Regions from separate parts of the Homo sapiens genome. Here all the other regions are linked to region 2. The links are contacts of gene promoters, found by promoter capture Hi-C in blood cells and fetal thymus (Javierre and others, 2016). All regions are on one chromosome and are shown on one strand. The core of a region is centred on a gene start or on the middle of the fragment in contact, and the rest is flanking DNA. Distances in the headings are between cores, read along the strand shown. Region 1 overlaps TIPARP (TCDD inducible poly(ADP-ribose) polymerase). Region 2 holds the start of SSR3 (signal sequence receptor subunit 3). Region 3 overlaps LINC00886 (long intergenic non-protein coding RNA 886).

What was found. Contacts are between HindIII fragments. The CHiCAGO score rates a contact against its expected background, and 5 or more counts as called.
Region 1: a fragment that was not itself captured here is called in contact with the fragment with the promoter of SSR3 in region 2 in 13 of 17 cell types (neutrophils, monocytes, naive CD4 T cells and 10 more); the score reaches 11.5 in neutrophils.
Region 3: a contact is called between a fragment that was not itself captured here and the fragment with the promoter of SSR3 in region 2, in 1 of 17 cell types (non-activated CD4 T cells). The highest score is 5.4, in non-activated CD4 T cells.

What each region holds. Positions count from the first base shown.
Region 1 is chr3:156,704,148-156,707,802 of GRCh38, forward strand. TIPARP (TCDD inducible poly(ADP-ribose) polymerase) reads left to right here. Exons shown (of 6, transcript NM_015508.5): 6 at 537-2,623. The coding sequence ends at 984. Among named protein-coding and RNA genes, the nearest start is that of TIPARP-AS1, 30 kb to the left of the region's middle. The HindIII fragment of the contact is 2,491 bases long and covers 65-2,555 here.
Region 2 is chr3:156,553,165-156,556,921 of GRCh38, forward strand. SSR3 (signal sequence receptor subunit 3) reads right to left here and starts at 1,953. Exons shown (of 5, transcript NM_007107.5): 1 at 1,793-1,953; 2 at 491-617. The coding sequence starts at 1,925. RefSeq lists an enhancer at 1,812-1,891. The HindIII fragment of the contact is 5,682 bases long and covers 795-3,757 here.
Region 3 is chr3:156,781,886-156,785,271 of GRCh38, forward strand. All of the region lies in intron 1 of LINC00886 (long intergenic non-protein coding RNA 886), which reads right to left. Among named protein-coding and RNA genes, the nearest start is that of LINC00886, 33 kb to the right of the region's middle. The HindIII fragment of the contact is 644 bases long and covers 1,540-2,183 here.

The sequences.
Region 1 (3,655 bases), core at 60-2,559, 150 kb after region 2:
AACAGACATAAGTAGGATTATTACAATTTATATCCTACAGAGAAGAAGAAACTGAGTCACAGAAAGCTTACTTTGCTGCAGGTCATGCGGCTATTATGATATGGTGCTGGAATTTGAACCCAGGCCGTCTGGCACCAGAGGCCTTGCTCTTAATCCCTTTACTGTGGTGCCTCTCAAGTCAACAAACTAATGAAGGACAAATGGAGGGAATACATTTAGATTTCAGGAATCTCAGAATCTAAGAGACCCTCAGATTGGAGGAATTAGGCAAGGAGGGCATCCTGAGGAAAAACATAGGAGAACTCTTAATAGATTTAAGATGAAAGAGAAAGCAAGTGAATGATTGGTGGAGAAAGAAGGAAAAGGCCTTTTCTACAGTGGAAAGATAAGTTTCAACTTTTAATAGGATCTTTGATGGCATTTTGCCCTTGATAACTCCTCATTAAAACCATAAAGAGAAGTTTATGACTACATCATGCCTGTTAAATTGACCTGTATTTCATCCTTCTGAATTCTCTGTCTGTTCTTTCCATTAGGAAAAAGGAATATATGAACAGGAAAATGTTTGGCCGTGACAGGATAATAAATGAGAGACATTTATTTCATGGAACATCCCAGGATGTGGTAGATGGAATCTGCAAACACAACTTTGACCCTCGAGTCTGTGGAAAGCATGCTACAATGTTTGGACAAGGCAGTTATTTTGCAAAGAAGGCAAGCTACTCTCATAACTTTTCTAAGAAGTCCTCCAAAGGAGTCCACTTCATGTTTCTGGCCAAAGTGCTGACGGGCAGATACACAATGGGCAGTCATGGCATGAGAAGGCCCCCGCCAGTCAATCCTGGCAGTGTCACCAGTGACCTTTATGACTCTTGTGTGGATAATTTCTTTGAGCCTCAGATTTTTGTCATTTTTAATGATGACCAGAGTTACCCTTATTTTGTTATCCAATATGAAGAAGTCAGTAACACTGTTTCCATTTGAAAAATCTTGGTACTGCTAAATTATTTGATATGAACTCAATCCAGCATTTGTAGCAGGTTTTGAATGGGTGGGACTGGGTGGGGAACAGCATTGGACATTAATAGGGCACTTTTCAGACCCATTTTTTAAAGTGCTAGAAAATGCTTTTTTTAAAAAAAAAATACAAGTTTTAAAATGACCACTTACTCTTTAATTATTTACTAATTGCTAGTGTACTCAGTGTGGAAAAGACTACAGATTACACACTCTTTTCATTCACACTTGTACATATAGACAGCAATGTTATTAGGAGCATTAAATTAAAAAACTGAACAGCCTAATTTAAATGTGGCTTGGGCCTGGTAGAAGTTTGACCAAATGGAATGGAGGCTGTGAGCAATGTGAGGATTCTATTTATTTATTTACGTTTGATAAAACTTACTGGAACTAGTACTACCATGCGTATTCCCTGTCCAAAGCATCACTGCTTTGGTATAGTATAAGTTCATGAAATTCTGGTGGGTAGAAAGAAATTTTTATTTCTATCAGCAGTACTAAAATGTATCAGCCAACCAGAGAACATCAGTGACTTTAACTTCTGCAGAGTTTGCCCCAGAATTCAGAGTTCTATTTAGAGGAAGTTAAAACAACAACAAAAAACAACCATTTGAAAAATTTTTGTCACCAGCAAAACTTTTCACTAATTAGTGATATGAAATGTGATTTTTGTGTTGTTAAACTTCAGCTTTGGAAAACTCAGTCTCTTTCATTATCATCCATTCCAATTTGAAGGAGTTGGGCAGCTAATTTGGTTAAAGGCAGTCTTGAGGGTTAGAAGTATTACTTCCTTTTCGGGTTCCAGACCTAGCTTGTGACTGAAAGTTTTAGAAAAAGGAAGTACATCTATAGCCAAATTGATAAGGTTATTACTGTGTTTTGCACAAAGTATATTAGCAAAAGTATTTGCTGGAATTATTGGTAGATGGCAGTCCCACTCCTACACCTGCTTTGTCAGATACAGCTGGGTTCCCTGGCTGACTCTGTACCTTACTTACACTACTTACTTAATAGAAACACAAACTTGGAAATTGTGCCAGTGGTCCAGCTGGAGCACAACGTTTGGTGAATATGCTGTTTCCTCAGTTCAGAGAGGTAGCAACTAGGTAAACTCCTTATAAAAAGCAAATACCTGGATTTACAAAAGTGAAAGTAGTTGTTCACAAAAGAATTCGCCATGGAATTCTTTCAGTTACCAAGCTCTCCTGGTAATGTTTGTGGTTATATCATTTACACAAAACTTTTCAGGAACTTCTGTGTTGTTTAAGCAAGATGTATCTGTACTGATGTCTCAGTGAATCAGTCTGTTTATTAAGCACTTATCAGGGCTTCCACACACTTATTTATTTTGCCCTAGTTAATCCTGTTGTTTGCTGCCATTGGCATGAAATGGCCAACTGTGGCTGTTACAGTTCTTTCATTCAATTATAACTTGTAAACCAGTGACTCCTAATCTTTTTCAAGTTAAGACACCTTACCATTGCTTATTTGGTTTTATGAGACTTGTTCCTTTTTTTCTCCCTAAGGAAAAAGAAAGCTTTATGACATATTTATTTTTTTAATAAAACTAAGCAAAAATAAAACTTATGGTAATTCTTTAAAATTTGTTGTTGTTTTGGTTCCATTTAAGATCACTGGATTAATACATAGTTGGTGATCTGTAAATGTTGATTGGTTGGTTAAATGTATGATTGAGTGACTGAATGAACAGACCTAACCAGAACTTGCTGCTTAAACTTTTCTGCAGTGTGAATCTACAGAAAGTACATTATCTAGCAGCCCATTATCATTTACAAGAGAAGAATCAATATTTTATTTTGCAGGTAATACTTGGAGGAAATGGAAAAGTTTTTTTTTTTTTTTTTTTTGAGGCGGAGTCTTGCTTTGTCGCCAGGCTGGAGTGCAGTGGTGCGATCTTGGCTCACTGCAACCTCCACCTCCCAGGTTCAGGCGATTCTCCTGCCTCAGCCTCCTGAGTAGCTGGGATTAAGGCAACCGCCTCTATGCCCGGCTGATTTTTTTTTAATTATTACTTTTAATACAGACAGGGTTTCATCGTGTTGGCCAGGCTGGTCTCAAACTCCTGACCTCAGGTGATCTTCCCACCTTGGCCTCCCAGAGTGCTGGGATTACAGGTGTGAGCCACTGCACCTGGCCTCCAAAACTTTTTGAGCATCAACATGATACTGAAAGAAAATGCTCATTGGAACATACCAGATTCTGGATTTTCAGATTAGGAATGTTCAACTGGGAAATACACAAATACTTAAAAACCTGAAATCCGAAACACTTCTAGTCCCAGGTGTTTCCCATAAGGGAAACTCAATCTGTATCAGCAGACAGCTGCAGAGAAAAACATAAGCAGGTTGTCCCTTTCACTGGGTGTGAAGGAAATATAAAAAGGATTTGTATGGCCAGGCATGGTGGTTCATGCCTATAATCCCATCACTTTCGGAGGCTAAGGCAGGCGGATTGCTTGAGCTCAGGAGTTTGAGACCAGCCTAGGCAGCATGGCGAAACCCCGTCTCTACAAAAATAGAGAAATTAGCCGGGTGCGGTTATGTGTGCCTGTGGTCCCAGCTACTCAGGGGGCTGAGGCTTAAGCCCAGGATGCAGAGGTACAGTGAGCCGAGAT
Region 2 (3,757 bases), core at 703-3,202:
GAGGATCCCTTGAGCCTGGGAAGGTTGAGGCTGCAGTGAACCATAATCATGCCACTGCACTGCAGACTGGGCAAGAACTAGACCTTGTCTCAAAAAATAATAATGACAAAAAGATCATTTCTTTAACTTCCAAAAATAGTACGTGAAGAGCCCAGAACAATTCTCTCCATAAGGAATTACATTTAGCTTCTGAAATGTTAACTTACTTGGTGGGTTTGTTTCTCTGATGAACCTCATATTAAGGCCTGTGTTTAAGTGTTCTAATTCCACCCTCAAAATCTGCTTCTGTAGCCGTGTCAGAATGATCATTGTCTCTACTTCAGTTAGTTAATAATTCTTCCTAGCATCAATGTTCCTTTCCCCCAAAATGTTTATTAATATATATATCTCAAATTAATGCTTATTAAAACCAACACACACAAATGATCTTTAAGAAGACATATAAAAATATAACATGTAGTACGTACTTTCACTTGAAAAACATACTTACTTGTGCTTGAGAACAAATTTCACATTCTTGTATGCAAAGGCTACCAAATATGTGCTTACTAGGGTCATCACACTATACAAAACAGCAGACTGAATAAGATCCATATGCCATATTCGCCAGTATAACCCTGAATTAAAATAAAAGGGGGAAGGGTACAAAAAGAAGCAAAACATTACAACCCCGCAACAAAAGCCTGCGAAATTAATTATAGCTAAGCCTGGTAAAATACCAGGTTATTAGTTATGCAATCCAATAGTATCTGAGGATCTTCAGAAGCGAGATAACCAGTAACAGTATAGTCTCAAGCTTTCCAGTTCAGAACATTTGAAAAACATCACCTTCCTATTACTAGTCCAGATGAGATTTCAACTTCTAAAATGAGAACAAACTCTGGCTCAACGTAATCACAAGTCAGACTTCAAATTTCATTCATCAGGGTACTAGCATGCGAAACACAGGCCATTCCAAAATGCCACGTGCAGCCCCAAACCATAGTTTCCTTGCTGACGTGGCTGTTATCAGAACTCCAAGCAGTGCTATGTCCAATTAGTGAGCCATCATATGGCTTCACATCACGTTAATGGCACGCTGGGTTGTATAAGGACAAAAGAGAAAAATACATTTAGTTTTAAATGCCCAACAACAGTGCAGCAAAAGACAGGAGTTCTGGAAACTTGAGCTCTACTAAAAACGACCTTGTCCAAGTCTGCAGTTTCCCAACCAAGTGAGAATTCTAGAATTGGTCCAGTAGGATTATTAAAAAGTATAAATAAGGTAGATCCCTAACCCCTGGCACTTCAACCTCTCTCTTTTTGCAAAAACCAGGAAAATTATGCAATGGTGTGAAGTAGCTCACGTAAAGATGCACTTATAATTCAGTGGGTCACTTCATGGGTTTCTCACCTAACTAATTTATGCAAAATAAGTAATAAGTTTAAAATTTCGTAACGGCAAGCAACAGTTGTATAGAAAAGGGCAGAGGCAGTATGCTTGAGTTTGTCTGTTTAAATAGAGATTCGGGGCCGCCACCCCAGAACTAGTTAACCACCTTCTCCTGGGGTGGAGCTCGGGAACGTGCGTACTTTTAACAAGTGACCTCCCCGAGTGCTGCACAGGACAATCCCAAGCGACAACACTGTGCCCAAAGAAGAGGCTCCGTGCCTCCCCGAGCTCAGGGGAGCTGGAGAGATTGCCGACCCCCGGCCGGCACCCACGCCTTCCCTGCTCGCCGGGTCCTGCCACGTCCCCGCCCAGCCCGACTAGCCGGCGGCCTGCCTAACCCGCCTCGCTCCCAGCACTCACAGATGGGGATGGCAGACACGATGAACGCGTTTCCGAAGAAGAGCGCGGAGGACTTGGCCGAGAGATTGCGGCTGAAATCCTGCAGGAGCAGGTCCTCCTCAGACTGCTGTTTGGAGCTGCCTTTAGGAGCCATGGCGGAGCTGCAGGCGAGAACAGGGAACGTAGAGCCGGCCGCCAAGGCGGGCAAAGGCCCTTGACTCCGCCCCTGCGGCCGCCGTATCCGCTAACGACCCGTCAGCGCGGCGCGCGGAGGCGGGACCCGGTTTGGCGAAGAGCAAGCGTCCCCAGGATTGGCCAGCTTGGCGCCACTAGATAGGCTTCCGGGCGTGATTGGGCGAGCGGGCCAGACTTCCGGATTCCTGACAAGCCACGTGACCCACCCACCTGGAGGAGAGAGAAGGGATTTGTAGTTTAGTCGGTGCTTTAAAAAAAATTAACAAAACTTTATTGATATTCCACTTCAGAGCTGCTGACAGACTCACGAGTTCTCAGTTCTTCAGAATTCCAAAATTAAAAGCTCTTCTGGCCCCACGCCATTAGTGCCCTCTGTGCGTACCCAGGACTGAGTACGTTGAAGAAGAAAGAAGAGAAAGGTATAGCTAACTCATGTAAAATCCCTTCTCCTTTACACATCCTTTATTTCATTAAATACCTTGAAGAATCTTATGACGTGCGCATCATTACCGCCATTGCAGCTGAAGAGCCTGAGGGTCGTAGACCTGCGGTGTGGGTCTCCAAGGCGTGGGCTCTTTTCACTAAACAATAGGCCACCTCTGTAGGAAGAAGAAAATGGGACTCTTGCTTTTAAGAAACTCATGATCTCATTGATGAAGGCAATATTTAATATATGTCTGATACAAGTTACTACTATTTTATTTTATTTCAACTAGACCTATAGAGTTTTGTGGCTTCCAAAGCCATGCTAAATAAAACATAATACTAAGAACAGGTTGGCTAGGCAAGACTCCCTCTCTGAAGCTCAGAAGGATTAAGTATGTCTATTAAAACAGCTAGATTCCATTTTTAACTCAACACATTATCATTTTTTCTTCAAAAAAAAATTCAACCACATCACTCCCAGCAAATGCTACTTTTGATTACTGAGAACACTCTAGTGCATTAGGCACAATTTCCTCAACCTCCAGCCTCCTTATTAACCGTTTGGTAGATATCTTTCTTCCTCACAGTATCCAAATTGTAATCTACCTCCACAGCTTCCTATTACTAGTCCTAATTGGGCTTTTGTCTTCAATCTTTTCCAGTCTATTCTCTATACAGGTACCAGAGTGAGTTTTCCTGAAATATAAATCCTTCCATTATCTACCGCAAGTGTTCCTTAATGCCAGAAGTTTTCATTAATTCACCACAAAATGAAAAAGAAAAAAAGACCATCTAGTGAATTTTTCAGAAAATCAAAAGTATTCATTTAAAAATATCTGGGTTTATGTCTTTTTTGATGTTAAAAATGCTCTTTATTTTATTACATGGTAGTGATAGAAGAAGAAATTATTATTTTCTCTTACACATACTCCTCCCCCAGTTTTTCCTATCTCACTAAGTTGCATTCTTTTAAACTCATTTGTTGTTCTGGTTAAAATAGTGGGTTTCAACACTAATTATTTTTTTCCTTCTCCATCTATGACCAATTCATAAATAAAACTTTTTGGATCTGTCTCTATAACTAGATTTTCTTCTGCCTATTTATAAACAAACTAAGGATATAAAAAGAAGATAAAAGATAAAAATCAGAGGCTGGGTGCGGTGGCTTATGCCTGTAATCCCAGCACTTTGGGAGACCAAGGTGGGTGGATCACAAGGTCAAGAGACCGAGACCATCCTGGCCAACATGGTGAAACCTCGCTTTTACTAAAAATACAAAAATTAGCCAGGCATGGTGGCGCACGCCTGTAGTCCCCAGCTACTCAGGAGGCTGAGGCAGGAGAATCACTTAAACCCGGGAGGCAG
Region 3 (3,386 bases), core at 612-3,111, 230 kb after region 2:
TAGTTCTCTGTGAGACCGGGCCACCTACAAGAGTCTTCTTGTAGCTCCATAGTTTTCCATGTGTTTTTCTAACAATTTCTGTCTCCTCAAGTAACCTAAGTATGCTCTGTACCTTGCCAAGTAAAAGAGCCTAAGTAACACGGTATCTTTGTCAAGTCCACACCCTAAACTGTTGGAGTGCCTGCATATTGCATGGGAGTAAGCACGCATACAGTGAGCCAGCATGCAGTAAGCCTTCAGTAAAGTTTGCTGAATAAAGCTGAGGGGTGTGTGATTACTTTGGGAATGACTGAGTCCATGTTAGGCTGGCAAAGAGTATTTCTATATTTGGATCAAGGTGTACCCAAAGTTATCTGAAAACTTGCGGGCTGGAGCAAAAGTGAAGCTTTGTGAGTAAGTGAAGGAAGAAATAGTTTAAGTGCAACATTACCAAGAAGGGCCTCAACTCAAAATATTTTTGCCTCCAACTTGCCATACTGCCTAAAATATAGACACGATATTAACTCCTTCAATGGAAGGCACTGGCTATCTAAGTGCTCACTTATAAAGTATTTATGTTCAGAGACAGGAGTAACACGTAAAACTTATCATATTTCATATCTTAGTGTGCATTCATTCAGCAAACGCATTTCTAGCAGATTTTTATCCTACGGACTGAGGAAATATGACTCTTGATGGTGTCAGGTCATGGAGTGTTGGAAGGTGGTACTTTTGGAGCATGGAGCACTGCTGAAAGAAATTAGGATGACCTAATTCTTGTGTGGAACAATATACATTCTGGTTACTCCTAGTGAAGGAAGAGGGAAGGAAACGGTAGGGATGTGAAATTCTTCCAGGCCTCATTCTAGATGACCCCAATTACCACATACAATACAAAAAGGGTAACAAGGATGATATGTGTTATATGACAAAGATTCTAGGTTTTGAAATAAGAAGATCTGAGCTTTATCCTCTACTGCTGTTTAATATATATGAAACTTAGGATTTCTGGGCTTCAGTTTCTTCATTTATAAAATGGGAGATAACAATATATCATTCTTCAGAGGGAGGTGGTAGAAACCATCTGAGAGAAATGGTGGTCAAATGATTTCAGTAATTGCAAACTGCATGTGTTGCAGTTCAGCCTGGAAGGAGCAGGGATATAAGAGTGACCTTAGTTGAGAGTAGGCCCTCCCTGCTGCTAAGGCTTCCTACCTCTCCTAGACCCAGGAAGAAGTACATGGATTCACTTTTCTCCCACCTCACATGACTATGGTGGTTACTCATCAAATCAAAGTAAATCTAGAGGTTTTTGCTGAGGAAAAGTTATGCTTTCTTTCCTGATAGAAAAGAGCACTGGCATTAAAGGCACTTGAGACATTTTTTTCCCCTCATCCTTTTCTCATCCTTTCTTTTCTAAATCTCTTCCAACAGATAGGTATAGTAGTTACAAAGCTTTAGTTGCAAATTACAGAAAACCTGAATCAAGCTGGTTTTAAGTAATATTGGAAAGTTAATGGTTTATATTACTAAATGGTCCAGTGATACATTTTCAGGTAAAGCTTGATCCAGCAGCAAAATGATGGCATCTAGGGCCTGGTTTCTTCCAATTGTTTCTCTGTTCTGTTCTTCATAGTAATTACTTTATTTTAATGCTGCTACTCATCATGATCCTAAGATAACTGCCAATTGATTCAGTGCTCTTGTCTATCAGGAAAGAAAGCATAACTTCTTCCCAGCAAAAACCTCTAGATTTACTTTGATTGGATGAACTTAGGTTACACATTCCCTTGGAACAAATCTCTAGCTAGAGGAGATAATATATTGGAGAGTTTAACCTAAGGCACATTAGCCATTCTGGGGCTGAAGGTGGATTCAGTTGTCCTAAAACCCCATGGATCGCAAAACAGTTTATGGGCTGATAAAGTGAATGGGGAGAAATGGATACTGAGGAGGTGCCACTAACAAAGACCACTATTACAGGTTAGAAGAAGATGCCATCCTTATATGTAAAGCTGCAGTGTCCAAATGCTTACAGACTTTGTCATTTGAAAACTAGAGCACATATTGTTTAAACCAAATTTGGTGTGTCTACTGTAACAGAAATTGACTTTCATCAATACGCATGAAAAGCAATCATTAACCTTTGGATTTTGTGATTTTATAAAGCATAGAAATCTATACTTCTGTGCTCTCAGGAGGGAAGCTTTTTTGTTTATACATTTTGGCCATTTTCAACATGCTCTAAATTGAAATGGAGAATGTACTTTTTTTTTTCTTCTAGTGTAACATTGAATAAGTAACAGCACAATGCAGGAAGTCAGTCTAGCCACAGCAAATCTGTACTTGTTTTTGTGAGAGGATGGGAAGAATGAATATTTGCCCTGTGGCATCAATTTCCTGTTTAATGTTCTCCAAGAGGCATTTGGAAAATGCCCAGCAACACGGATGTACGTAAATGCCACACATAACTTGTTTTCGTGAGTGGAAAGAGGAGCCTATAAAATTATGACAAGTCTGGTTTACCCTCACCTCCTGAGAGTTGGTGAGTCACTCTACCTTTAACTTAATGATTTGGAGGATGGATTATTCCAGAGTTTGGCACTGGAAGAACAAGCAGTATAGGAATAGCATGGCTTTTGGCTTCTTAGCCCAAGTTCTTATTCATTTAAGGCTACTTTTATCCTAAAGTTTGCCATATTCCTGCTGGAAATTGCCAATAAGAAATGTATACGTGGCCGGGCGCGGTGGCTCACGCCTGTAATCCCAGCACTTCAGGAGGCCGAGGCGGGCGGATCACCCGGTCGGGAGATTGAGACCATCCTAGCTAACTCGGTGAAACCCCACCTCTACTAAAAATACAAAAAATTAGCCGGGCGTGGTGGCGGGAACCTGTAATCTCAGCTACTTCGGAGGCTGAGGCAGGAAAATGGCGTGAACCCGAGAGGCGGAGCTTGCAGTGAGCCGAGATCGCGCCACTCTACTCCAGCCTGGGCGACAGAGCGAGACTCCGTCTCAAAAAAACAAAAACAGAAAAGAAATGTATACGTACCAGGACAGCCTTTATAAAGCAAGCAAAGAAACAAAATCCCTTCCAAAACAGAACCTATCTTTAAGATTTGCAGACACAAATTTGTTTTCAAACCACAGAAAAACATATGTACATGCCACATAATATCTCTTAAGGCATGGGCAGATGTGCTCTTACCCCAGACCACTCACATACCAGTTTTGGACATCTTATTTAAAAGGTCATGATGTGGTTGAAGAATCAAAACCTATTTTTGTTCAACAACTAATCTCTAGGGTTACTATAGAATTTAAAACCTTGACTCCGAAAATTCAGATATAAAGAATCTGTCCTCTAACTTCCCTTTTGAGCTACCTCCTGACATAAAGATGAGAAT